Linked DNA regions of Homo sapiens: all the other regions are linked to region 1. Evidence: promoter capture Hi-C in 16 types of primary human blood cells and fetal thymus (Javierre and others, 2016). All regions are on one chromosome and are shown on one strand. The core of a region is centred on a gene start or on the middle of the fragment in contact, and the rest is flanking DNA. Distances in the headings are between cores, read along the strand shown. Region 1 holds the start of MIR302CHG (miR-302/367 cluster host gene). Region 2 overlaps FAM241A (family with sequence similarity 241 member A). Region 3 has its middle 29 kb from the start of AP1AR. Region 4 overlaps AP1AR (adaptor related protein complex 1 associated regulatory protein). Region 5 overlaps ALPK1 (alpha kinase 1). Region 6 overlaps ALPK1 (alpha kinase 1).

Region 1 (4,709 bases), core at 1,086-3,585:
TATGCAGGAATGTTACACTAATTCCTAATTCATCAACTTCCATTCATAAAGCTAAAGAAGTAACTGGAGATTGCTAAATGGGGGGGGGGGGGAAATCTTATTTATCTTGCCTCCCTTTCGTTTTGACCTAAAATTTCAGACATAACTAATTTACATTACTTTCAGATGTTGAATTTTTAGATGTTTGAATTACGGAAAGAACTGAGCAATACCTGGAAGTATTATTTCATCATAGAATAAGAAAAGTTTATCAGTTAATAATAAAAAATATATAATAAAATCTGTGAGTTTCTAGAAGCCAGGGACTAGATCTTAACTCATCCCAACACTCAGCAACTATCACAAAACAGGCATTTAGTAACTGTTTGCCAAATTAAAAAAAAAAAAACTGCAGAGACTTACACTTGCTAGTCCTTCCCACTTCTTTACCTAGTTAATTAGTACCAAATTTAGATATAAAGCAAGTAAAAAACTCAGTATTGTTGAAATTTGAATGCATTCAGTAGTAGTAATGAGTTTTATAACTGACTTTTGAGCATATTCAATTACTACAACTCAAAAGATATATACTAAATATCCATTATAATGTCAGGCTAATCTCTTGATTTAAAACCCTTAGAATTTAAAACCCATAGAATGACAAATTAGCCTGGTAATCACATGGGCAAGTCACAGACAGTTGTAACCAACACAGCTCAGTTTTTGTTTCAGCAAAATGTAAGTAACTACTAACTGGATTAATGCAGGGATTGATTTTATGATTTTGATGATCATAAATGATGAATTTGTAATTGATAAAGTTACCCTTTAAATAACAGAAGTTATTTAATGAGTTGATTAGAAATAACTCTGAGCAATTTTTGTATTAAATGTTTTGCAATCTGATTAATCAGAGCAGTATTTACATCCCTCAATTTTCAGCTGTCTCCTGAAATGCAAGCTGGTAATAGCAATTTGGATTTGGCCAAATCCTTCACCAACATTGCAAAGAGGATCAAAATTTGTTTCTTAGTGACAGCTATAGGATTGTAGGACAGTATTTCAGATAAGGAGGGCTTACAGATAAACAAACCACCACCTCAATGGTATTCAAGTTAAAACCTGTGACTGATGAGTCTACGTAAAACCAAAACAACATACTAAGTGATGATGAATGTCAGTATAAGAAAATACTTAAAATATGTGGTATGTTACAGAGCATTTCACACTTTTTAAAAAGAAAAGGATTCACTTAAATGGGTGACAGGCAGGGTAAGGGTAAATAAGATATGGTACTCTCACCTAAAAGTATATAATTTCCCTAATAGAAAGTATTGCTACCAATGTGGTATAAAAGGCTACAGAAGATAGACTGTATAAAGCGAAAAAATTATAAACCTGTATGTACAGCAATTTGTAGCGTAAATTATATAGAAGTATGGGTTTTTTGGCACATGCGTGAAAAATTTTAAGAGGTTTTCAAAAATATTTTACTTTTCTATAATTAAAATTTTAAAGATAATCAGCACATAGGTAATACAAAAAAAATCAGTGCCAATAAAAATAAGCAAAAGTTACAATTTTCCTATAGAGAAGGATGTTTAAACTGTGCTTACATATAGATTTAGTGAGGAATTTCAGCCTCTAGATTTTGCTTCAAAATTAAACCTAAGAGTTACCATGGAATTAAAACTGTACAGTAGTTTACCATAGGGAAACAAATTCTAACTTGATTTGTTTTATCTTCCATATTCAAAACATTTTCACACAGGGAAATAATAAGAGAAGAAAGGAACAAATACCCTAGGGGCTCAAAATCATTACCCGGACTTGTTTCCTGCCAGGTAGAGGCTCTGTGCTAATGATCTTCACAATCACTCCACTCACGAACTGTGGTCCTGTTGCATTAACTTTCTCCTGGGTGCGACACTCTTCCCTGTTGGCTGCTGATTAGAAAAGGAAAAAGACCAGGACTAAATCTCTTACACTTAACAACAATTTAATACTTAGGAGGACTACCTTAGAATAATTCCTGAGGCAGATTTAAATAATTTAAAACGTATTTAATTTTAAAGTAAACAATTAAAGGTTATATGTCATACTGCTTATTTCAAAATACCATGAATAAAACTCAGAAAGTTTTATTATTCTACATGCAAATTGTTACTGCTAGAAGAGCATTCGTAAAGCCTTTAAATTTGCCCCTTCTCCCTGAACAAAGGAACAGTAAATTTTTACTCAATAAAGTTAAAAAAAAGTTAAAGGATACTGTGTTTTAAATACATTATTATTCAAACGTGAACATTTATTTTTACAAGAAATGAGAATTTAAAATGTATCCTAATTTTGAATTCATAGGAATTCTGCTTTAACTTGTTCCTGCTTGTGGTGCATACTACAGAATGAAATTAACAGGTGAGAAACTACAATCTTCATTCCTACAAACTTGCTCAGTCTGCAAACTCTGCACTCATGTGCTTGATGAAAACTGTAGAGAAAACTCAGGTTATTTAAAAAATTGTTTTAAATGAGCCTTTTAAATATTCTTATATCAAGAGTAAGTAACACATCTGGATAACTTAACAAATCAAGAATTGTTCTAATAATGAAATAGAATAATCAAGTTTTTTAAAATTAAAATTTATCTTATAACAACTCAGAGATAGCATTTACATATATAAGTACATTATAATGTTGTCAAAACTATCAGTGATCTTTACTTTTTTCATTTTTCATTCCAGTGTTTTGAGGTACTCCACTGTCTGTTTCCATTTCTGACTCTGATTTTATTTGGGATATTGTTTTTTTTAAAGAAGCCATGCTAGCTTTTTGTAGCGCTAAATACTCTTTTTTCAAATCCATCCATTCGCTCCTACAAGGAAAGAAATGGTGATAACAGATGACTAAATATAAAAAGTAAATAGGGAAATATCTAAATATATACATTCACAATGACTTGGAGCAACTCCTCCACCAACTTTCCTGTTTCTTTAAACACATATTCAAAATATTTCCTAGGTTCTAAAGACATTTAGCAAAATAAGCTAAGGGAGTTCCTCTTCCCCCAATATTCAGATTAAATGTTTTAAGATTGCCAATTAAATTTTTGAGTGTCTGAAGTATTTTAATTTATAAAAGTAAAATTTTAGCATTAATTCCTTAACTAGTAACATTTACTAAATCAGTCATCTCTGTGGGAAAAGGGCGAGATTAAAGATTTGTTAAACTGCTTCCAATTTGAGAGATAACATTCCTTAGTATTTACTTGAATCAAAAAGAATTTCTAAGTAGAACAAAACACCCCGTGGAAGCAATCTATTTATTTACATACATTTAACATGTAGATGCTTCTTCAAACAGAGTTCCTCCAGATAGAAACACAATGCCTTTCTCGGCTCAGTGGGAGCACTCATTGTTACCCTAATCTATGCCATCAAACAAGCAGATAGGAGATTTTCTTTTTCTTTTTCTTTTTTTTTTTTAAGAGGAAGATATCTTGTGGTAATGGTTTTAGCTGTTAACATTGACATCTGTATACTTCAAAAAAAAAAAAAAGGATCCAGACCCACCCAGGATCATACATTCCCTGAGAGCTGATACATTAAAATAACAAAAGGCCCTTGTAATGATTCTCTGAGATAAAAAGGCAAAAGGAATTCAAGAGTTAAGAATAGTATAAATAGAAGTGGCTGAAGTCCCTGCCTTTTACCCTTCTGGAGGAGAACACGAATCTTTGGGAACTAGTTCAGGAAGGTAAAAAAATTTTTTTCTTCTAAAGTTATGCCATTTTGTTTTCTTTCTCCTCAGCTCTAAATACTCTGAAGTCCAAAGAAGTTGTATGTTGGGTGGGCTCCCTTCAACTTTAACATGGAAGTGCTTTCTGTGACTTTAAAAGTAAGTGCTTCCATGTTTTAGTAGGAGTGAATCCAATTTACTTCTCCAAAATAGAACACGCTAACCTCATTTGAAGGGATCCCCTTTGCTTTAACATGGGGGTACCTGCTGTGTGAAACAAAAGTAAGTGCTTCCATGTTTCAGTGGAGGTGTCTCCAAGCCAGCACACCTTTTGTTACAAAATTTTTTTGTTATTGTGTTTTAAGGTTACTAAGCTTGTTACAGGTTAAAGGATTCTAACTTTTTCCAAGACTGGGCTCCCCACCACTTAAACGTGGATGTACTTGCTTTGAAACTAAAGAAGTAAGTGCTTCCATGTTTTGGTGATGGTAAGTCTTCCTTTTACATTTTTATTATTTTTTTAGAAAATAACTTTATTGTATTGACCGCAGCTCATATATTTAAGCTTTATTTTGTATTTTTACATCTGTTAAGGGGCCCCCTCTACTTTAACATGGAGGCACTTGCTGTGACATGACAAAAATAAGTGCTTCCATGTTTGAGTGTGGTGGTTCCTACCTAATCAGCAATTGCGTTAACGCCCACACTGTGTGCAGTTCTTGGCTACAGGCCATTACTGTTGCTAATATGCAACTCTGTTGAATATAAATTGGAATTGCACTTTAGCAATGGTGATGGATTGTTAAGCCAATGACAGAATTTAAACCACAGACTTACTTTGATAGCACTCTTAATGGTATAACTTCTTCTCCCATTTTATGTCTCTCTTTATGTTTTTTCTTATGTTTCCTTTTTGTTTTCAAGAGAGAGCTATCTTTTAGATCTCCAGTATCCTTTTCCTCTTCAGTAGAGATTTCTATATCTTGAAATAAATA
Region 2 (4,709 bases), core at 1,030-3,529, 470 kb after region 1:
TATGTAAACGTCTTTAAGAACCTTAGTTCTTCATCTTCCAAAGTGCTGGGCATACTTCTGATAATTATTCTACAAGTACCTGTTAACACAATGGGAATGTTCTTTTTGATCCTGGAATTGCACAAAAATGACTGCTTAAGTGAAGAATCATGTTTGTATTTCTCTTGTGAGTGACCATGATTTCAGAACACCCTTTTCTGCCACCCTCCTGTTTTATGAGGCAAGGCCTGACTGCTCTGTCCTGGTAAGATTCTTTTTAGACGGTTCCTTTGACACTAAGACGTTAAGAAACCGAGCCTCAGATGACCAAAGCATGTTTGCTGTTATTATTGAGCAATCCTCAGCCACTACTGCTGTGATCTTTGTCTTAGGCTCAGCTAAGCAGACTTCAGCGCAGGCCCTTGCATAGTTTCCTGTTCATTATATAGATGCCCTAAATGCCTCTTATTAATTTCATCAGGAGAAACAAATAGTTTTAATACAAATTTTTTTTTTTTACAATAAGGCCAAATGTCTACCCAGTAGTTAGTATCCCAGAAAATGTCTACATGCACCCAATTATACATACCTAAAGTATTATTTCTATTATCTTCCACTTGTATTATAATTAAGGCCATGACAGTAAGCTACTGTCTCTTGGCTTCAAACCCACTCTTTGGAATTCTGCAAGCATTTCTGTCTCCCTGTTAGGCTCTGCCAATAGAGGGACCAGCGTGACACTTCACAGGTAGAGAAGGAAGAAGGAATTTGCTGTTTCCTTCGGATGGGTTTCTTAATCCTGTTAAGTCTCACTCTAGCAACAATTCTTCACTCCGACAGCAATAGTGCCTGCTAGTAGTAGCAGCTGATTGCAATTTGGGGGTTTTCCAACACTTGTAGAACCAATCTCAATGTGCCTTCTTGAGATGCCAGCTCCAATTACTGGGTGCTTCTTCCTCAGATACCTGGTTCCCAGGTCTATAGGCTCCCTCCTCTGAACTCAGAGAAATCAGTACCAGGCAAGCAGTGACCTGTTCTCAAAAGTCTGAATTTCAGTTCCATGGGGGCCTTTTTGAAGCTTCTCAGTTTCAGTAAGTCCATCCATCTCTTTTTCTTTCTGCCCAGTCCTATGAGTGGTTGTCTTGGTGATATTTTAGTGCAGTGGTTTTTAAACTTTAGCATGCGTTAGAATCCGCTGGAGGGCTTGTTAAAGCACAGCTTGCTGGGCCTACTACTAGAGTTTCTGATTCAGTAAGTCAGGGGTGAAGTTGGAGTCTGAGAATTTGCATTTCTAGGAAGTTTCTAGGTGATGCTTATGATGCTGATCTGGTGACCATGCTTTTCCAATACCCAGTTAACAATTACTTATATTAAATTATCTTTGTTAAAATAATTGGTATAGTTTCTCTCCCCCTCCCCACCGCCCCAGACCCTAGTAGAATCACAAAAGAAAAACTGTCATGTAGGTGAGATAATTATAATTTATTTAAATATATTTTATTTAGGAGGCATGATTCAAATAATTATTGAATTATTTGCTCATAGTATGTACATGATGGAGAATTTATTATACGTTTAAAAAGCCTTTAGATATAGGGCTTCACATAATAAGTATTAAATACCATTAAGTATGCCGTATAGGCCAAAGGAAAGCAAAATTAATTATCTTATAAGGGAGTGTCACAAAATCATCTGCCACAAACAGCCAATGAATTTGAGGAAATTTTAAGACATTCTTCAAACATCTGAATCAAACTTACATTCTTTTAGTAGAAACCAAAGCTTGATCATTTCAGTCATCGATCAGTAAATAATTAAAAATATTTTTTTCATTAAAGAAATGGCTATATGAAGCCTTATTTTCTATTGTACACATAGAGTTTAAAATAAATCTTTAAGGGAAGAGTGAAAAAAAATCTAACTTTTGTTTAAAATAGAAAATCAGACAAAATGATTTTCAGTATGACTTTAAGAAATGGGCTTTTCCCATATACTAGTAATTTATGTACAGTAATGAGTACCAAGGGGGACTGATGAGGTAGTAGAAAAATGAGACTCACTGGGGCATCTTTGTTGAGTCTACATCATGTGTTCAAGCCAGATTTACTTTTGAGCTATACTTTTATATAATTTTTTTTTTTGAGACAGTTTCTTTCTTGTTGCCCAGGCTGGAGTGCAATGGCACAATCTCGGCTCACTGCAAACTCCACCTCACACTTCAAGCAATTCTCCTGCCTTAGCCTCCCAAGTAGCTGGGACTACAGGCATGCACCACCATGCCTGGCTAATCTTTTGTATTTACTAGAGACAGGGTTTCACCATGTTGGTCAGACTGGTCTTGAACTCCTGGCCTCAGGTGATCCACCTGCCTTGGCCTCCCAAAGTGCTGGAATTACCAGCGTGAGCCACTGTGCCCGGCCTATTTTATATAATTTTTAAAATTACTTTTGGATTTTCACTTCTATCAGAAAAAGAGTGAGAAGAACAAAATGTTGTAGAGTTATCTAGGGAGTTCACATCCAGGCTGCAACACTTTAACTGAGTGACATGACCTTAGCCAAATTACTTCACTTTTCCTGAACTTCAGTTTTCTAATCCATAAAATGATTTATGTGATCCTTTTTTGATACTGATAGTTTTCTCTTAAGTTATAATTTGTGGATCTTTTCTTTTTTTAAAAAATTGATTTCTAAATTATTTTTTCCTTCACTGATATATTATGACTGGGTCAATTTTATGTTTCTTGTACTTTGATATGATCCATAACAATATACTACATTTTAAAAAAACCCTTATTCTTGCCTAATATTAAAGCTTTCTTTTCTTTAGGGTAGAACTTGAAGAGTCCTCGATTTAGTATGTAATTCTGCTGATCCCTCATCCCTCTCTATTTCTCCAGTGTTCAGCATGTTGATACTGTTTCTGGCCTTTTTTTCTTCATTTTTTATTAAAGTTCTTAAAAAAATTTTTTTTTTTACTCTTCCCAATTTCTTGTAATCTATGCACTCATTGTACTTTGGGGTTTTTTTTGTTGTTACTGAAGCTTTTTAAGACTTTTTTTTTCAGTATTTTTGTGGTTTTAGTACGAAGAAAGTACCCTAATCTGGATGTGGTAGGTACTGTCTGAAGGTTTAAATTCTTTGTAAAATAAATTAAATCTACAAATGCTTGTGGGTTTTTCAGGGGAAGAAGGAGGTGTTGCAACACTTAAATCAAAACAGAGAGTTAGTAAATCAGGCCAGGCGAGGAGACAGCAATGCTCACATTATCTCAGATCTTGAGATCAGCTGGTGGGATTGAGACTGGAAGCTGAAGACCCAGTAAGGACAGGTCTGGGCAAGCTGTGGCTGTTGCAGCCTGCTTCTTCTTCTTTTTTTTTAATTATAAAAAAATTTAAGCACACACAAAACTAGAGAAAATAGTATAATAAACCTATATACGTATCAACCAGATTCAGTAATTTCTAAAACTTTGCCACCTTACTGAAATACTTCTTAATCTGGGTAATCTGATGAAGAAGAAAAAAGTTTAAAAAAAAATCACTAGGCTAATGCCTAAAAGTAACATATCTTCACAAATGAAGTTCTGTAGAAACATCAAATATATCCAGCAATGAATTGGATAGGGGGTTCAAACAACCCTAAAGGAAGACATTTAAGAATGTGGAAAGGGTGTCAGTTTCCAGGCAGGCAAAAGAAAAAAAAAAAAAGAACGTGGAAAAGGAAAATGATCAATATTCTTCAATCAGTGAGATTATAGTCAATCTCATTACAGTATTTTATGTATCTAGGATATCCTCTCAAATAACACAGTTCTAAAGGATACAAAGACTGGTGTGTTGGTAAATGTTTAACAATGGGCTTTGTTGGGGGTTGGGGGAAGCTCTATTTTACAGCGTTTGCCAATTCTGTTGTGATTTCCAATTTCTGTAGTGTTAGTACTTCCACTGTGGCCAATTTCAAACTATTAACAGCCAGCTCAAAAAGTTCCTGAAAATTTAACAACTTGCTCTTTGACGATTGGTAGGAGCCAGCACCAGCACTTCACTGTAGGAATAAGAGATACTTGAAATAAGTTGAGGTAAAGGCCTGCACGGTTATAGTCGATGAGTTTGATCCCTCCCTTCTTTCCACCAACTGGTGCATTTCTATTTTTTTTTTTTTAAGTTTACAACATTGACAAGCTGAGATAATTAAGTAGAATTAACTTATTACAAATATATTGCAAGTGGGTAAATTGTATTAAGAAAGGACTATATTATGACTTGAGTTATGAGATACAATGAAATGCATGTGGTGTCACAAAACTACTACAAGTAACAACATATTGCTTTTTCTGGATTGTCTCATGCAGCTATCAAAAGGTCATCCGATTCAATTATTTTTAGAAGTTCTTGTTTACAATAAAATTTAAACCATCTGGCTGATTTGTGAGGACGAGGGCTCTCTTGATGCTCCCTAGGTCAGTGAATGGTACCACCATCCATATGCCACATCCAAAGGTCAGAACTCTAAGGCATTCTTGACCCCCTCCCTCTCCCTCTTCCCCATGACCCACATCCAGCTCATCACCATATTCTCTTTGTTTTACCTTCTAAGTATTTCTTTAAAGTGTATATACTATTCCATCTACTGCTATAATCCTAAGAGTCTACTAAGATCTCTTGACTATTCCAATAGTTTCCTAACACTGCTACTGCACAAGTCCATTAGCTCCCCTATAATCTATAT
Region 3 (4,709 bases), core at 1,219-3,718, 450 kb after region 1:
CCAGGCCTTATACCTTGTATTTCTTATAGCACGCAATGCCAGCACTGCTCTGAAGACAGCAGATATTTAATAGTGTTTGTGGATTGAGTGATTAAATGGAAAAAGCAGATCTTCAAACCTTGCCAAGAAAGCAAAAAATGAAGCAAAAACAAAATAAAAATTTCAGTACAGAAAACAAATACCAAGCGAAATCACAAACTGTTTGTTCCCTTTGCAAGTGTCTGGATAACAAATAGGTGAGAAATTTTTAAAGTTCTATTTTATTTATAATTGACGCATAATTGTACATATTTATGGAGTACAGTGTGATGCTTTAATACATGTATACATCGTACCATGATTAAATCAGGGTAATTAGCACATCCAACAATTTAAACATTTATCATTTCTTTGTGGTGATAACATTCAAAATTCTTTCTAGCAATCTTGAAATATACAATGCATCATTATTAGCTATAGTCACACTACTGTGTGATAGAACACCAGAACTTATTCTTCCTGTCTATCTGCAACTTTGTACCTGTCGGTGAACATCTCTCCATTCTCCTCTCCCCTCAAGGAAATTTTTACTTGGAAAAATTATTGAAAAAAGCAATACGAACTTTAAAAAAATCCGTATTCTTTTTTTTTTTTAATTGTAGTGCTTAAAAAAATTCTACGCAAGTTTACGTGAGAGGAAATGAAGAAAGCAGTGATGGGGCTTGGCGAATACACAATTGCCGTTAGACTTAAGCAAATAACTTGGGATCTGTGCCAAATTATTTAGTTTCAGCTACTATATCCAATTCTCAGGCTGTCCAGAATGTGGCAAAGCCCAGTTGAGCAGGACTGCAAGGCACTTTGGATTATCACAGGGGGAAGAATTAAGATTTAAGAAATGGGACATTTGGCCGGGCGCAGTGGCTCAGGCCTGTAATCCCAGCACTTTGGGAGGCTGAAGCGGGTGGATCACGAGGTCAGGAGATCGAGACCATCCTGGCTAGCACGGTGAAACCCCGTCTGTACTACAAATACAAAAAATTAGCCGGGCCTGGTGGCGGTCATCTGCAGTCCCAGCTACTCGGGAGGCTGAGGCAGGAGAATGGCGTGAACCCGGGAGGCGGAACTTGCAGTGAGTCCAATTCGCGCCACTGCACTCCAGCCTGGGTAACAGAGCGAGACTCCGTCTCAAAAAAAAAAAAAAAAAAAAAAGGGACATTTGGCCCTGCTGTTTATTTGGTTGGTTAGATTAAAATAGGCGTTATTGCCAGCTTGAAGGAAAAAAACAAAACAAACAAACAAAAAACCAGTATTGCTCCAGCAGATGCCCCAAGAGGGCTTCAGAAGAACTTGTCTTGGCCTTGGTTTGGAATTGCTCCTCTCCTACCCAGCTTTCTGTTATGTGGGTAGTGAAAGAGTGGCAGGCTAGGGAACTCTCTGAAAACTATTTCCAGATATTTCAAAATTTCAACTTTTAAACTAATCCTTGGTATGCAAACAGTTGAACAAATAACAGTACACAATTAGGTTCAAAGTAATAGGTAGTGATAAGAAGCTCTCATTTCAAATAGTTTTCAACCTTTGACTGACCTTTCCGTGACATTAAGCTCATTTTCCTAACAACAAATTATGACAGAGTATTTGGAGTACTTCAGGCCCCCATAAACCAGGTGCAGTCTAAAGAAAACAGCTCAATATCTGGGCCTTATTACCTTTTCCATCATCCAGGCATCACCGGATTTCCCCATCTGTGATCAGGCCTGATCACTCATGCAGTTTTTATGGTAGCAAATGAAAATAGTTTGGAAATTTCCATCTCAAAGGCCAATACTTCATGGAAAACCTTAAGAAGCGTTTTATTCATTACTAGAAACCTAGTTTATTAACATTCTTAGTATGTATTTTTGCAGTTCTTTTATATTTCATTGAATAGTTATCTTTTAAAAAACCATTTTTCTGCTAGGAAGGGAACAGGTAAAAGGGAGAGAAATTTAATGCACTGAATGTATAAAATAGCATGGGTCAAAAACTATAATATTTCATTATTACCTTGTACATGGACTACATTCTAGAAGATAAATTAAGCAAAAATGATGAAATGAAAACATATGCCTATCAGAGATCACCACTGTCAACACCTTACTATGTCTCCTAGAAAATATATGTAAACATTAAAAATATATAAACATAAGAATGCATAACAAATATAAATAAATATATATATTTAACAAAAGTCAAGATGTTTTTTAACCCTATCCAATAATGTTTTAACTCTTTGAGAGTTAGACTAAATTGACATTTACAAATAGAGAAATCAAGGCACGATGCAATTTCTAGAGGACAGGAGTCAAGTATAGACTACAAGTGACACAATTTTTTTCTTGGTTATGTCACCTGTTCAATGTACAGATCTTCTGCATAATCACTATTGGATGGCTAGAGTTGCTGACCTTCAAAAAATGATAGAGAATATATGGGACATATTCAGGCAGAAATGTTTTCAAATTCACATAAGCCAGAAGAACTCTTAGTGAGAGGGCAAACAGGCGTTGCTGTCAGAAGAAGTTATCAAGCCTGTAGAGCCTTACACTCCAGAGAATACCCAGAACCTGTTATTTTCCCCTGAGGAGGACCTCTGGTGATATGCAGATATATTAAAGATGCTCTGTGGTTGGGCATGAATGCAAATGGAGGTTGCCAGGCTGCAGGACTCATCTCTACATGCTTCCTTTCCAGGGTCCTCTAAAGGCCACAGAGCCGTATTAATATCAACCTGAGATGTCTTTCTGGAAAGACTTTCTAAGATGTTTCCAGCCTAAGAACTCTCTTATGGATTGACTGGCTCTGGGACCAAGCATGTTTTGGGGTTGGTGGGAAAATGAAGCACTGTTCCAGGCTGGTCTGTCCTGAGCAGATCAGAAGACTCACTGGTGGTAAGGCTCTTCAGAGCCAGAGGACTCTATTGCAGTCACAACTGTATGGTGAACACATGTGATAGTAATAACTGAAGCATACCCTGAGAATGACCGTGTATGGCAGATGCACCTGAATGCATGTTCTGAGCTGGGGAATCTGGGTGTGGCCAAAGTGAAGATTTGTTCCTTTTCTGTGAGGAACATCTGAGCTCCCAGCCCATCTTGTGGAACACAGGCCATACGGAGGTCCAGGTCCCAAGTTTTGAGCTGAATGAAGGTTGCCAGCTGGAGGTCGTTAGGAAAAGAATGCTAAGTGAAAATGCTAAACCACCTGCCTTTTGTAAGCAGTTGCAGTTCTCCTGCCTAGCCTGCTGCTACTAGATTCCTTCCCCTGTATGTAAGCCCCCAATAAAATGTATGTCTCGTTTGCTGGCTCTGGTTCTCTTCTTCAGCTTCTTGAGCCTGGTGCCATTCCCAGTGGCATCCACAGGGGTTCAGGCACAACAACAGCTTGTCAACTTCTAGGGTATTTTGGAAATATCCTGGGAGTCTTCCTGGGATTCACAGATGGACCAAGGACCCCACACCCAGGAGGAACTTCTAGGAGTATATGTCAAACTCAAAGACTCTTTTGGGTGTGAGCTAATTGGTTTGTATTAGGACATTTAGATTCCTATCCTTTCTCCCTCACCTAAGAAATTATTAAACATAAATAAAATGCTCACATGAAATTCTCCCTTGTTAATTTCTCATGCAATAATTTATTTATATCACTATAAACTTGTAGATATTTATTTTAATATGTTTGATATGTCATAGAGCGATAATTTTTCAAAGGAGTATTAATGTGAATTTTATACTGCTGCTTTGAAATGTATAAAAAGAAGAGGGTGAAAAAGTCATTAGAAACTTATGTTGTCTCATAGCGCAAAGGAATATTTATATAGAAAAGGAGATAATATGTGGTTACTGACATGACTAACGGTTAAAGTGGAATTTGTTAAAATTATTATTATTTTTTTTGAGGCGGAGTCTTGCTCTGTCACCCAGGCTGGAGTGCCGTGGCGCGATCCCAGCTCACTGCAACCTCTGCTTCCCGGGTTCGAGCAATTTTCCTGCCTCAGCCTCCTGAGTAGCTGATATTACAGGCGTGCGCTGCCACGCCCAGATAATTTTTGTATTTTTTTTTTAGTAGATATGGGTTTTCACCATGTTGGCCAAGCTGGTCTCGAACCCCCTACCTCAAGTGATCCACCTACCTCGGCCTCCCAAAGTGCTGGGATTACATGCGTGAGCCACTGCGCCCGGCCTAAAATTATTTTTAAAAAAAGTATTTAGTAATGCAGATAATTAAATTTTTGCAACAGAAAAGTTGCAAAGATTATAGAGAGGGTTCCTGTCTATCCAGCATACAGTTTTTCCTGTTGTTAATATCTTATGTCTACGTTCATACTTACAGTACATTTGCTACAACTAAACCAGTATTGATACATTATTATTAATCGAAGTCCATATTTCTTTTAGAATGCGTTACCTTTTCCTAATGTTCTTTTTCTGTTTCAGGATCCTATCTAGGATACCACATTACATTTAATCATAATGTTTCCTTAGTCTTCGCTGGTTTGTGACAGTTTTTCAGACTTGTTTTTGATGACCTTGAAGGTTTTGAGGAGTACTGCTCAGATATTTCATAAAATGATCCTCAATTTGGGTTTGTCAGATGTTTTCCTCATGATTAGCCTGGGGTTATGGTTTCTGGAGTGGAAGACCACAGATATAAAGTGGCATTTCCATAACAACCTATCAAAGGTATAT
Region 4 (4,709 bases), core at 848-3,347, 400 kb after region 1:
TCTTTCCCTAGAAAACAAAAACGACAGTGTCAACTTTCAGTGTTCTTCTAGTCGAACCAATTTTAAAGATGTAGAAAGTAGACCCAGGGAGGTTAAGTAATTTGCAGAAACGTACACAATTAATTTAGTGAAGTTGCAAATTAGCATACAAACTAAAGTTCTAACTATACGAATGCATAAGAAATGCTTCTTAGCCTTTTGACTAAGATCAAATGTTGAAATATACACAATTTGCTGATTCTAAAATGCACTCCCTTCTCATTTTTAACACTTCTGTATTTGAGAAGCATCTTAAAACTTGCTGAGTTGTATGAGATGAAATGTAGAAAATCAACATAAAGAAAAGATAAAAGAGATGATGGCTAAAGTCAGAAACTGTAGAATAAACATGTAGAAAATCTGACATCAGAATCTATGAAAACTATAAAGAATAGGCCTACTCCAAAGCTGGGTGAAGTGGTACACACCGATGGTCCCAGCTACTCAGCTGAGGCAGGAGGACTGCTCAAGCCGAGGAGTTTAAGTCCAGCCTGGGCAACATAGCGAGATCTTGTCTCTTAAAAAGAAAACAACGGCAACAACAACAAAAAGCAATGGGTCTACTCTGGATTGTTAGGTATTTTACCTACTTAATGGCAAGAGGTTAGAAATATTAGAAATACAACTTTCTGAAGTTCCTTGGGTTTCTGTATAACGCTTTAAATCCTGTGTGTGTATATAGTGTATCTTAGATAGTAAAAAAATTCGGAATTGGCTGGGCGCGGTGGCTCACACCTGAAATCCCAGCACTTTGGGAGGCCGAGGCTGGCGGATCACGAGGTCAGGAGATCGAGACCATCCTGGCTAACATGGTGAAACCCCGTCTCTACTAAAAATACAAAAAATTAGCCGGGCGTAGTGGCGGGCGCCTGTAGTCCCAGCTACTTGGGAGGCTGAGGCAGGAGAATGGCGTGACCCGGGAGGCGGAGCTTGCAGTGAGCCGAGATCCCGCCACTGCACTCCAGCCTGGGAGACAGAGCGAGACTCCGTCTCAAGAAAAAAAAAAAATTCGGAATTATTTTCTAATATAAATTAGTAAAAGAAGGAAATAATAAAGAACTAAAAAGTAAAAATAAAAACCAGAAAATAAAAATTCTAAAACAAAAATAATAAAAATTGTAAACGTAATTGTTAGAACTAATGAGACGATTAATGAGAAAAACAAATACAAGTTTTGTACTATTATGGAAATACTTACTTCATCACTTTCTACTAGATTCTCAAACTGAAAGGACAAAAAAGTAAGCGTTAAGAGGAATATTTGTCTTAGGTATACATCTCACAAGAAATTATGTTACTTTTTTCACTTAAAAATAATATACCTTTATATTTGTAAGCTATTTAATTCAAATGCCTCTTTAATACATCATTTCATTTGATATATTTAACAGTCCTACAAAATGGCCAAGACAAGCATATACTATTTTAATTTATGACTTTCTATGAATGAAAATCAAACAGGAGAATTATAGCAATTTTCTACATAAATCAGAACTAAAACTTTCATCTGAATTGAATATTTCATACAAGTAATTTCATTCCATGCTACCAGAATATTCCACTTCACTTGACTACAGAACAAATGTTGTAAGAAGGAAAATTATTCAAGGAATGGGGACTAAAAGATACCAAATAAGAATTTCCCCACGTTTATATTTATCCGTCTATTCATTCATATAGTTATTTACTGAAAATCTACTAAGTGGTAGTTACTATCCCCAAATACAATGTCTTTCTAGAGATAGGAATGTAAACAGTTTGATCATAATGTGCTTAACACTATTATGTCAGTGACCTAATAAAAGTCATTACTATTATATCACTAAAGTGTTTTTATTTTAAATATAAATAACTTGATAAGTAACCACCTGAAATAAAAGGTGTTTTATTGTTAATACTGTTTGGCTTAAAGATTGAGAGAAAACAATGAATTCAAAAGGTTTAGAAAATTAAGGAATCTCTCTGAAAAAAGAATAAAACTGTTAAAGTTATTATCTTTATCTTTTTTTATATTAGTTTGTGATTTTTAAATATCTAATTCCTGCCTTACACATTTCCTTATTAATATAGAAGGCCATAAAGTACAGTGTTCCAGCTTTGAAGCCAGGCAGTTTGGACTAGAATTTAGGTTTTGCCACTTAATAGGTTGTGTAATATAGCCCAATTTCTCCACCTGTCTAAGCCTCTGATTTTTCATCCATGAAACAGGGTGACCACCACCTGTTTACAAGAGAGTTGTGATGACATTCTTAATTTGTATGGTGGAGTGGCTAGTTTATAGTAGGTAAGGAATAAATGGTAGTTTCTATTATTATATTTTACATTCAAAGAAAAAGTGACTCGGTCATTCTGCTGTGGAGTTGCTTAAACTCAACTTCCTGCTTTGTTTCTGGACTCCCCCCTGCTGGGGCAGGCCAACCACCTCTCGTTATACCCTAGTGAGCCACTATTACTGACAGAAGAGTACCTTCTCCCTGACTTATAGGGTGGGGGAAAAAGCTATTAGAAAAACAGAACCATAATCCTCTGCAAACTTCTTCCTACTCATTCCTTCCCTCACTGCTCCAACTCTTTCAATCTTCACTAACATGAATAATATTGAAATATAAACAGTCCATTCTAAATTTGGGTCCAGATCTTTCCCTCTTTACAACAAAAAGCCCCTTCCGCCTTTCTGAAGGCATTTTTAATTCAATCAAATTAAGGACTACTTACCTCTATTGTTAAGTGCTCACCTCTTGAGCATGTTCTAAAATACTTGGATCTGGGAAGGAAAACAGAATAACTTTAAAAAACACAATTAACTCTAAGATTGAATTAATATATAGCATAAAAACATTTATTTCCTCAAGAGCAACTTTAAAATCTCTAACATATAGTTATATTTATAAAAAAAGAACAACAAAATTTACCTAAGACTATAAAAAGTCCAGATTTTTAAACTTCATTATGACTTTGTTTAGTCAATCAATATTTCTTTCTATTGGCACTAACACTTACTAAATCTGTAATAATTAATTTACTATATTTACTACATTGAGTAGAATACATTTTAAAATGTATCTCATTATTTTTACTACATCAAGAAAAGTACCTCGTTAAAAAATACTGATGTGTTAAATAATATATAAAAAGAATATGTTCTCAATTTTGTTAAAAATACACAGAACATTAAGTATCTAAAAGTATATATGTCAATATGCTAAGAGTAGTTATCTTTGGTGGTGGAATCACGTGTCTTTATTCAAGACTTTTGTTATCTTCCCATGCCCTCACAAATAAAAGAGAAAAACAATGCATATACATGTCAATCAAACAATCCATTACATTATTTTTTCCAACTAGGGCCAAATATTGACTTTATTTTAATCATTCTTTCCTGCTCCTATTAAACTTATATGTAGTCAAATAGGAATCTTCTTTATTATATCCTCCAAAGATATGTCTACATTCTAAGTACTACAGCATCCAAGCTGGCATCCCAGGAGAGGGCCACTCACAGTCCTTTGTAACTGGAAGTGCCAGGAGATTACGGGACTTTCAGTCATAATGTGGCTCCTGTTACAGCTGCCAAAACTGATGGAGAACTCCACTGCCATACAATGGGGATCCAAATTTGTACTAAGTGTTCTTAAATCATCAGGATTCATGGACAGAAAGCACACTTTTAAGAAACAAGGAGAATCCTGGGGTTAGGACAGGTCAGAATTCTTTTGCTTTTCTTTCTTTTTTGGAGACAGGGTCTTACTCTGTCACCCAAGCTGGAGTGCAGTGGCGCAATCCTGACTCATTGCAGCTTTGCACTCCTTGGCTCAAGTGATCCTCCTGCCTCAGCCTCCCCAGTAGCTAGTAATACAGGCATGCACCACCATGCTTGGCTTCACTTATTTTTTTGTAGAGACGAGGTCTCAATGTTACCCAGCCTGGTCGCAAATTCTTGGGCTCAAGTAATTCTGGGACTCCCAAAGTGCAGAATTCTTTGTATTATGTGTATGTGTGTGGATGAAGGTTTAGTGAAAGAGAATGCCATATCATGACTGAAGGAAAAAAATAGCAATGAAATTATGGGAACTATTTTTCCTGCTATAATCTTTATCTGCTGATAGATGCAAATCTGTGTTATTGTCCACTAAGATCATTGGTAAAAAGCAAAGAATTTGGTATTACAATTCCACAGATTTCATGGACTATATCCAACATAAATGCAATACCCTTAATCCTCTATCTAGTGCCTCCACTCTTCTCTCTCCTTTATTTCTCAAACAAATACAGAAATGAGTTGAACCTTCAGTAGTAGCACTGGGTTCTGGCATTAGGATTCCTGCTTACAGTGCTATATGCTTCTCTCCCTGCAACCATCACTATCTTCCCTGAATGGAGAATCTGTCTCTGATTAATCTGTTTCCTCCTCCAGGTTAGTGAGTGGTACAGCTGAATAATTAGAAATAAAGCCCAGTAATACTATCAATAGGAGCCATCAGTATGACTTCACTGCTGTGGCAAAGCCCAAAGCTAAGTAGAACATTGTCGAAACCAAGGTAACTGTTACACTACATTTGTATTAGATGGCAGAACACCATGTTCTAGTCTAATTATACATAGATAATACAAACTAACTTTAGTAGTAGGCAAAAGTGTTATCTGTTGTAAATATCTCCCTTTTCTGTCCC
Region 5 (4,709 bases), core at 816-3,315, 330 kb after region 1:
GTATTGGGAAAACTGTATATCCACATACAGAAGAATGAAGTGAGACCCTTACTTTACAACACCACATACAAAAATTAACTCATAATGGACCAAAGACACAAATGTAAGAGTTAAAACTAGAAAACTCTTAGAAGAACACATAGGAGGAAGGCTTCATGAAGTAGGGTTTGGTGATTTTTTGTATATGAAATGGAAAGCACAGGCAACAAAATAAATAATAGATAAATTAGACTACATCAAAATTGAAAACTCTGGGCATCAAAGGGCACAATCAGCAGAGTGAAAAGGAAACCTATGAAATGAGAAAAAATATTTGCAAATCATGGATCTGACAATGAGTTAATATCCAGAGTATATAAAGAACAACTGTAACTCAACAACAAAAAAATCAAACAACCCAATTAAAAAATGGGCAAAGCATTAGCATTTGAAACTACAATTTTGGAAACTTAAAGCTAAGTTAATTTGGATCTGTTATTTGATTCATCCACTAAAGTTTTTTTGTTGTTGTTTAAAGTGCTTATCAGCATAATGATAAATGTCATGCACATTTGTGAAGAAACATCCTTTTTGGTTCCTTTTGGGAATGCGAGTCATTCCTTGATCTTTATGAATGACAGGTTACTGTTTTGCCTTACTTAATGTAGTGGAATAAAGCAGACAAAGCTTGAAAAAAAATGGGCAAAGTTTGAATAGACATTTCTCCAAAGAAGATATACAAATGGCCAATAAGTACAGAAAAAGTCCCCAATATCACTAATCATTACAGAAATGCAGATCAAAAGCACAATGAGACACTACCTCACACCCATTAAGATGGCTGCCATGAAAAAATCAGAAAATAACATGTTGGAAAGGATGTGGAGAAATCAGAAATCTTATGCAGTATTGTCACTGTACGGCAGTTCCTCAGAAAGATAAAAATAGAATTACCATATGATCTAGCAATTCTACTTCTACATACACCCAAAAGAATTGAAAGCAGGAACTCAAGGAGATATTTATATACCCATGTCCATTACATGATTAGTAATAGCCAAAATATGGAAGCAGTCCACTGAACGGATGAATGGAGAAACAAAATTGGTATGTACATGCAATAAAATATTATTCCACCTTAAAAAGGAAGGCAATTCTGACATATGGATGAACCTTGAGGACAGAAGCCAGTCACAAAAGGACAAATACAGCATGATATCACTTATATGAAGTACCTAGAGTAGTCACACTGATAGACACAGAGAGGAGAATGGTGTTTGCCAGGGGCTGGGGAAGAGAGAAATGGGAGTTATTCTTTACTGGATGCAGAGTTTCAAATTTGTGAGATAAAAAAGAGTTCTGTGGATGGATGGTAGTTATTGCAGTGCAACAATGTGAGTGTACTTAATACCATTGAAATGTGCACTTAAAATCGTTCAGATGGTACATTTTATATTATGTGTATTTTACCACAATTTTTAAAAATTATTGAAGAATAATCAGAAGGAAATACAATAAAATGTGGAATGTTTGCCTCTAAAGTGGTACTTTTCTATTGTTTTCCTCTTCCTATTTTCTACAATGACTACGTATTGCTATGTAGTTAGGAAAAAATAACTTAACTCAAAAGTTTCATATGAAAACTTACCCAAAGTTTCGGTTCATTAGATTTCAATCCATTCCTGATTTAGAAGAACTTCCTAGTTAAGAAAAAGACATAAAAACAGAGGACTTTGTTATAAGAAGATGGAATAATCTCTATTTCTTGCATTATGTCACAAGCATTGTTGCATGCTTGCTATTCGAAACAGCGGATAAGGGAACAGGAAGATCAAGTTCCTGAGTTGCAAATGAGTGCAGAGAAGTTACAATTGTATCATCACTGTTCATCACTTTAGATATAAAAGGAAGAGGAATGTTACATCAAGGGAGACCAGATCCTGTCCAGAGTGCTTGACTGGGGACAAACCTCTTTTGGTTTCCTCCCTCCCTTAAATAGGGGAAAGGGCTTCAAATTTCTCCTTAAACTTCAACCATAAAGGAGAGAAAACTCAACATCAGAGTATGAAACTATCAGTGGTGGTCATATCTGATAATTTTATTATGCATGAAATAAAAGGACTTTGTTGAAAAACCTCTGGGGTTGACATCTTATCTCCTGGAGTTCTGCAACTTTCATCCACTGACTTTAAAAAAGTCTATTTACTACTTTTGGGGCCTGCCAGAAAAATGGGAATCCCCCAGTTATTTATACAAAAATGTTGCTAAAGAAGTTTGCAATAATAATTACTACTTTATTGTATATTAAAATGACAATGTGGCCGGGCACAGTGTCTTGCACCTGTAATCCCAGCACTTTGGGAGGCTGAGGCAGGTGGATCATGTGAGGTCAAGAGTTCAAGACCAGTCTGGACAAAACATGGTGAAACCCTGTCTCTACTAAAAATACAAAATTAGCCAGGTGTGGTGGCGCGTGCCTGTAATCCCAGCTACTCAGGAGGCTGAGGCAGGAGAATCATTTGAATCCAGGAAGTGGAAGTTGCAGTGAGCCGAGATCAGGCCACTGCACTCCAGCCTGGGCAACAGAGTGAGACTGTCTCAAAAAAAAAAAAAAAAAAAAAAAAGGCAATGGATTACTCTTCCCAGTAATTTACATTTTTCAACTCTCCTATAACCCTCTCAAAGGCCAGCTTATTCTCCTACAGCCCCTAAACCACCATCCTAGGTCGAGGTCTCCTGTTCTTAACTGCCACTTATGAACCTTGCTTTCACACACTCCTATCCCCACCTTTGGAATTCATGTCACCAGATTCTATTATCCCACTGCCCTTCATTGTTGCTATCAGCTGCCAGTTCTCAGGGCATTTTGGCTCCTGGATCACTTGGTCTCTCCAAATCACTCTTATTCTTCGATATTTCAATAATCATGTGATGATCCAGGACTCTCCATTCCTTGAAATCCTTTCTTCCAAAGATGTTGTCCTTGACACAACCTCAGTCATTCACTTCCATGGTCATACAGCCTAAATTTTGTTATCATCAATCACAGCAACCCTTCCAGATTTTCAAATTCACGAATCTCTCTCGCTATTCACTACTACCCATCTTGTCCCCTTTTAGTCTCCAAAATCCAACAATCCTAAAATCCCACTGGGACCTCTATGGATCCTACTCCTGAACCCTTACTGTACTTTTATGATCCGTTTACCTTCTGCTCACTTAGGTGACTATTTCACGCTGTCTCTTCTTCCTCCATCCTCATCCTCATCAGACGAGGACTTCCACAGGCTCCCACTCCCTTCTACGAATCTAACAGCAGCTGCATCCCATACTCTGTCTTCCCTTCTGCTATCAGAGAGGGACCACCCATGCTCTTATCTAAAACCAAGCACTCCATTTGGGCACTAAGTCCAACTGTGTTTCTATTCAAGGGCAGCAGTATTTCTCTCCTCTTCCTCTCTCAATCTTTTACATCGTCAAGCTTTTGCTCTCCTTTGGCTCATTCCTATCTGTTTACAAATATGCCATTATTTCTTTCATCTTAGAAGAAAAATCTCTTCATCTCACTTTCATCAGTAGTTATTGTCTTTTTTAGCAAAATTCCCTGAAAGAATTGTCTCTACTTGAGCTTCCAACCTCTCTCTTCCCATTCTCTTTTAAACGCATTCTAATTAGACTTTTGTCCCATTATGCCACTGAAACAAATTTTGTCAAAGTCACTGATCAACTCCATGTTGCTAAATCCAGCCGTCAATTCTTCTTATTATTACTTTTTTTGAGATGGGAGTCTCCCTCTGTCACCCAGGCTGGAGTGCAATGAGGCAATCTTGACTCACTGCAACCTCCAACTCCCATGTTCAAGCGATTCTTGTGCCTCAGCCTCCCAAGTAGCTGGGATTACAGGCATTTGCCACCATATCCGACTAATTTTTGTATTTTTAGTAGAGATGGGTTTTCACCATGTTGGGCAGTCTGGTCTCGAACTCCTGACCTCAAGTGATTCACCTGCCCCGGCCTCCCAAACTGTTGGGATTACAGGCGTGAGCCACCATGCCCGGCCTCCAGCAGTCAATTCTTACTCCTTATCTTAGTTGATGTGCCAAAAACATGTGACATAAAGCCTCCCTCCTCTGCTGTGTTCCAGGAAACCATACTCTCTTGGTTTTCCTCCTGTATTACTGATCACTCCTTAGTCTTTTTGGCTGGTTCCTCCTCTTCTTCTAGATCTCTTGATGTTGGAGTATGCAAAGGCTCAGTCTCAAACTATCTTCCTTTCTCCATCTAAACCTATTCCTCGGTGACTTCATTCAGTTCATGGTTGTAAATACCACATATTTATTGGTAATCATCAAATTCCTGTCTCCAGCCCAAACTTCACCTTAAACTTCAGATGCATATTTTCAACCGTAACTTGATATCTGCACTTGAGTTCACATTGAACCCCTGGTTGGCCTTTGTTAATGACTGAACCTTGTCAGCAGAGTGAAATGAAAGGCCAACTCTTGATGAGCTGGGCATTCAAAAGAGGCTGAATAGGAGCAGTTGGGGTTACCGGAAGGGCCATGCCTTGTGGAAGGAACTTGGCTGGAAGGAACTGCTTGGTTTCCTCCCGTTCACTTTCAATTTGTGCATGGGCAGCTGTAGTCTTAACAAGGTTTTCTTCTGACAACTATGACTTGGGGTGATAACTGTGTTGAGACACTGTGGGACTTCTGAAACCTGTCTGTTGC
Region 6 (4,709 bases), core at 1,376-3,875, 320 kb after region 1:
TTTTTTTTTTTGAGGCAGAGTCTTCCTCTGTCACCCAGGCTGGAGTGCAGTGGTGAAATCTTGGCTCATTGCAATCTCCACCTCCCAGGTTCAAGCGATTCTTATGGCTCAGCCTCCCAAGTAGCTAGGACTACAGGCGCATGCCACCACACCTGGCTAATTTTTGTATTTTTAGTAGAAATGGGGTTTCACCATGTTGTCCAGGTTGGTCTTGAACTCTTGACCTCAAGTGATCTGCCTGCCTTGGCTTCCCAAAGTGCTGGGATTACAGGCGTGAGCCACTGAGCCTGGCCTGGAAAACTGTTTTTCTTCAGGAAATTTGTGATATGCATCTAAAGCATGCTTTAGAGGGAAATTTGTTCTGTATCTTGATGAGGGTGTTCGTTACACAGTACTATACATTTGTAAAAATTATAAAATAAAGAACAAACAATACATCAGTGTTGCTCTATGTTAAGTTAAAAAATAAATAAAAATAAAGCCTATTTATGCTGTTTACCAAAAAAAAACACAAAAAACAAAACCAAACAAACAAAAAACAAAAGCAAAAGGAAAAGAAAAAGCATTAAGAAGCTTCGTGCTTCTCTTAGAGAGGCTGTGGGGCAGAAGTGTCTAAATATCAGAAGGAGAGTCTAACCAAGTTACACCTACACGAGAATGGGCTTACACACCAATAGAATTGTAGAATTTTTTTTCTAATTTATGTCAACAGAAACTAGTGGAATATGTGTGAAAATGGATTCTTAAGTGCTAAATGAAGGAAGAAGAAAGGAATATAGCTCCTTTGGGTCAAACATTAATGTGGGTTCATCTACCAGAGACTCTGGTAAATGCGCTAGTTCTGGTAGGTGAGATTGGTTATGACCATTTGTTCAGTTGGTTGGCTGGTACCTGGACTCAGTGGTGGCCTACACTAAAGGAAGTCAAGCTGTTAGAAATTAGTATAATGTGGATGAAGATACACAGATACTTAGAGATAGAAATATTAGAATGGATCTGTGAGGGTGATCTGCTCACTCAACCCTGCAGCGTATCACTCCTAATTATGTTCCAGGGATAGTCCTAGTAACAAGGCATTACAAAACATATTAGTGAGAAAGCACACATCACTAAAAAGCAAGATGGCAACTATACTTTGTAATCTGGGAATGAAAGTAGAAATGTACTCCATGATATACTCTTTAGAATTGAGAGGATATTGGAGAGGCATAAACCAAGAGGCAAGGTGGGCATAATTATGCAGGGCCAGATCAGTAATCAGAATGGTTTGACCTGCAAGGACCTTTAGCTTCAGCTTTAATACATGGGCAGTACACTAAGGTTTTACTTCATCTATGTATTATAATTGAAAATCCTAACCCTAGCAAATAGAAGTGTGGCTTGAGGGACCACAGTCTCATAGTCTCTTACTTCCCAGAACTGAGTTGGTTCATAGACCAAAAGCCCCTTCCATGAAATGGAGACTGGGGACCCTTGAAGCCAAGTTCTTTGAAAGTGCATCAAAAGGCTTCCTTTTAGCATTCCCCAAAGTGATCTGCAGTAATTCACGAGGGTAAATGTACAATGAAGAAACTAAAATAGTTAGAAGTTTTAGGGATTATTGGAATTGTCTCTGAGCTACAGTTAACTCCAGGGACATATAACACCACTACAGTCCAACAATCAGAAGAAAAGCTTAAGAGGGTTGGGTGATAAATGGAATATTTGACAAAATCTATCTCAGTGTGTTCATTCTGGGTCCAAGCATTCATCCTGTATTTATTTTCCAAGTTCCTGTATTTAGAATTAGAGAAGACCTTACTCAGCAAGTGGCAGAATTCCTACATTGGCTCCCTGACTGTACTGTGTCATAACCTAGTATTCAGGGACCTTGATCATTTCACCATTTCACAGGACATAGACCATGGCCATGTAATTGATGGCAACCAGTCAATGAATCTGCTGAGCATAAATTAGCAAATACACAAAATGCCTTGGCAAGACATATATGTGACTAAGGATAAGAGAAAAATTCCATAAAAGTTCAGAGATCTACTAACTCATTGATGTTTCTGGGGGTCTAGAGATCTGGAGTATATTGAGATATCCCCTTCAAATTGTGAAAGTCAATTTGCTGTACCTTCTTGCGTCCAGTTCTAGGAAGAAAGAGGCACAAATACTTGGTGGACTTTCAGTATTATACAGGCAAATTAACTGGTATTCTTCCTTCCTCCTTATTGATAAACCATAGGCTTTATATTTAAGGAAGGTCCCAAACAAAATAATATTCTTTTGCCAGTTCAGTTTAAAGAATAAACCTCTCTTGCCACTTAGCCCTTGGGACCGTAGAGTGAGTGACTGTGGCAAATCAGGATACCATATTGATCCTATGGAACTCCTGAATAAGATAATAATAGTACAGATCCCAGACTTGAGCGTAAAGTCATACCTCTTTGGCAAATAGCTATTTTCCTTGAGAAACCTCACTTAGTGGTTGTTATTTGGTACTGGTAGAGACTGAGTGTCTAGACATAGGAAATCAACTGATTATGTATGAGACCCAAGCTGCCCACCTGAATCAGATGCGACTTGATTGACCTATTTGAAAATGTGGATGTGCACAGCAGCTCTCCATAATCAAGTTGAAGAGATATATACAAGATCAGACTTCACAACTGCTAAAGGCATAAGAAAGTTTCATGAGCAAGTGGCTCAAACTCTCCTTCTAGTCTTGCTGTGATGCCACATCTCCTTAGACCCACATATACAGTGTAATGGGAATTTCTCTATGGACAGGATAGAAAATGTCCAAGGCTGATTTACTGATGTTTATGCATAATACACTGTCATATGTAAACTGATACAGCATTGGAGCTCTCCTCACTGTCAGCCATGAGAAACAAGTGAGAAGATAAATCCTCCCAATAAACAGACTTTGAGTGGTACCTCAAATTGTATACTTTGCCTGCAAGGAAAGATAATCACAGTGCAATTCAAAGACAGAGCTGAAAGGTTGGGTTAGATGATGAGAAAATTGAAAGGAAGAAGATTGAAGGATGATGACAAGGAGGTTTAGGGTAGAGATACACGTATGGATATGGATGGACCTCTCAGAATGGGTTTATGATATCAGAATACTTGTGCCCCATGTAAATGTCCACCAAAGGTCTCCCACTGCAGAAGACACCCTCTCAATAATCAGCGGGCAAAAGACCAGTACTGCACATGTCCGTTTTCCTGTCTCCCTACTCTCACTATTGTTCCTCGATGAGTTCAAGAACAAAGTGGCCATGGTGACAAAGATGAAGGTTATGCATGGACTCAACCACATGAAGTTCCCCTTACCACAGCAAATCTGGCTACCACACCACTATTGAATGCTTGAAACGCCAGCATAGTGAGCCCTCCATTTAGCTCTAAACCTGAGGGATGAGGAGGGAACAGCTAACCTCCTGTTGGCTGATCATAGTGAACCTCTTTCATCATGGAGTTGTAGCAGTTTTTCTCCCTGGAATGGACATGTGTTCTGGATGTAGGTTTGGCTCCCTTGCTATGCTTCTCTTAGCAATACCGTCTGTGGACTTACTGAAAGCTTAATTCACCCACATTAGTCCATACAACACTGCCTCTGGCCAAGGATGCTATAGGGCAGGGCATTTCCCACAGGATTCATCGATCGGTCATACCATAACCCTGGAGCAGCTGGCCTTAACAGAGCAAAGCAATAATCTATTACACATTCTGTTTTAGAGCCGGCTGGAAGACATAAGGCATGGGTACTGGTATAGAGAAAATAGTATATGCTCTGAATCAACAACCAATATATGGTCTTGTTTCACCCAAGGACAGGCCACATGGGTCCAGGAATCAAAGGGAAGAAGCAGGAGTGGAACCTCTCACATCACTGGGAGTACTAGATTTAGTAGATTATAACTCTAGCCTTTTAACCAGTTGCGAAAACAAGGACCGTAGCCAATATTCATATTTCCCTCTTTGGGTGGTAGTGCATATGTTCATACCTTAACCCATTTCCTTTTTCCCCTCTCCCTGTTGTGTATTAATTTATACAGGCTACACTGGTGGTGATTACCTTTATAGCTTAGGCTGTAAATGACATGTAGGTACTTTTATAAAACTGTTGCCAAATGTCTCCTTTCTCTTATTTAAGTGTCCATGCAATAAATTCTTCTTGGAATTAAGTTCCAAAAATAAGTCTGCATTTACAGAGGAACTTATACACACCCCTTTACTAACTAATGAAAGATGTACAAATCCAGCTTGTTCCTCTTTTGACTTGGTTGTCTGGAAGCTCAGAACTTTCTGTAAGCTCTACTTTATGATTCATTCAACACAGGTTTCCAGGACCCAAGCTGCTCTCTTCATTTATTCTAAATGGTTTCTAATCAGCGTTTTTCAATTTAACTTTTGCTTACATTGGATTTTGGTACATTTTAGTAGTGCATGTCACTTCAATTCCTTTTCATATGTACTTAAGTAAATACGTAAGTAAGTAAATAAACTGCGCCTTTAGTGAAGTAGTTTGTGGCTTCCCCTTAGCAACTCTGTCACACAGTAGCCTGTTCATTCGACCAGTATTTATTGAGTACTTACCATGTACAGACATGACAGGCCTATACCCCTCCCACCCTTGTGTGTGTCTTCATGTCCTTGACCATTGCTGTGATTTCACGTCAGATGGCCCATTGTCAACCTCATGAGCAGTGCCATGG

What was found. Contacts are between HindIII fragments. The CHiCAGO score rates a contact against its expected background, and 5 or more counts as called.
Region 2: a fragment that was not itself captured here is called in contact with the fragment with the promoter of MIR302CHG in region 1 in 7 of 17 cell types (neutrophils, total CD8 T cells, total CD4 T cells and 4 more); the score reaches 10.7 in neutrophils.
Region 3: a contact is called between a fragment that was not itself captured here and the fragment with the promoter of MIR302CHG in region 1, in 1 of 17 cell types (neutrophils). The highest score is 7.6, in neutrophils.
Region 4: a contact is called between a fragment that was not itself captured here and the fragment with the promoter of MIR302CHG in region 1, in 6 of 17 cell types (neutrophils, naive B cells, naive CD4 T cells and 3 more). The highest score is 7.9, in neutrophils.
Region 5: a contact is called between a fragment that was not itself captured here and the fragment with the promoter of MIR302CHG in region 1, in 2 of 17 cell types (neutrophils and fetal thymus). The highest score is 7.6, in neutrophils.
Region 6: a contact is called between a fragment that was not itself captured here and the fragment with the promoter of MIR302CHG in region 1, in 3 of 17 cell types (neutrophils, monocytes and total CD8 T cells). The highest score is 9.7, in neutrophils.

The regions. Positions count from the first base shown.
Region 1 is chr4:112,647,677-112,652,385 of GRCh38, reverse strand. MIR302CHG (miR-302/367 cluster host gene) reads left to right here and starts at 2,335. Exons shown (of 3, transcript NR_146092.1): 1 at 2,335-2,394; 2 at 3,787-3,873. LARP7 (La ribonucleoprotein 7, transcriptional regulator) reads right to left here. Exons shown (of 13, transcript NM_016648.4): 8 at 4,552-4,696; 9 at 2,700-2,851; 10 at 1,804-1,925. MIR367 (microRNA 367) reads left to right here and starts at 4,445; the gene lies at 4,445-4,512. MIR302D (microRNA 302d) reads left to right here and starts at 4,315; the gene lies at 4,315-4,382. It also overlaps MIR302A, MIR302C and MIR302B. RefSeq lists an enhancer at 2,793-3,515. The HindIII fragment of the contact is 6,288 bases long and covers 1-4,090 here.
Region 2 is chr4:112,181,938-112,186,646 of GRCh38, reverse strand. All of the region lies in intron 1 of FAM241A (family with sequence similarity 241 member A), which reads right to left. Among named protein-coding and RNA genes, the nearest start is that of FAM241A, 39 kb to the right of the region's middle. The HindIII fragment of the contact is 1,032 bases long and covers 1,764-2,795 here.
Region 3 is chr4:112,200,555-112,205,263 of GRCh38, reverse strand. No RefSeq gene overlaps it. Among named protein-coding and RNA genes, the nearest start is that of AP1AR, 29 kb to the left of the region's middle. The HindIII fragment of the contact is 9,259 bases long and covers 1-4,709 here.
Region 4 is chr4:112,251,302-112,256,010 of GRCh38, reverse strand. AP1AR (adaptor related protein complex 1 associated regulatory protein) reads right to left here. Exons shown (of 10, transcript NM_018569.6): 2 at 2,755-2,803; 3 at 1,238-1,264. Among named protein-coding and RNA genes, the nearest start is that of AP1AR-DT, 22 kb to the right of the region's middle. The HindIII fragment of the contact is 6,257 bases long and covers 1-4,709 here.
Region 5 is chr4:112,312,771-112,317,479 of GRCh38, reverse strand. ALPK1 (alpha kinase 1) reads right to left here. Exons shown (of 16, transcript NM_025144.4): 2 at 1,628-1,679. Among named protein-coding and RNA genes, the nearest start is that of ALPK1, 18 kb to the right of the region's middle. The HindIII fragment of the contact is 2,794 bases long and covers 669-3,462 here.
Region 6 is chr4:112,329,735-112,334,443 of GRCh38, reverse strand. All of the region lies in intron 2 of ALPK1 (alpha kinase 1), which reads right to left. Among named protein-coding and RNA genes, the nearest start is that of ALPK1, 35 kb to the right of the region's middle. The HindIII fragment of the contact is 1,897 bases long and covers 1,677-3,573 here.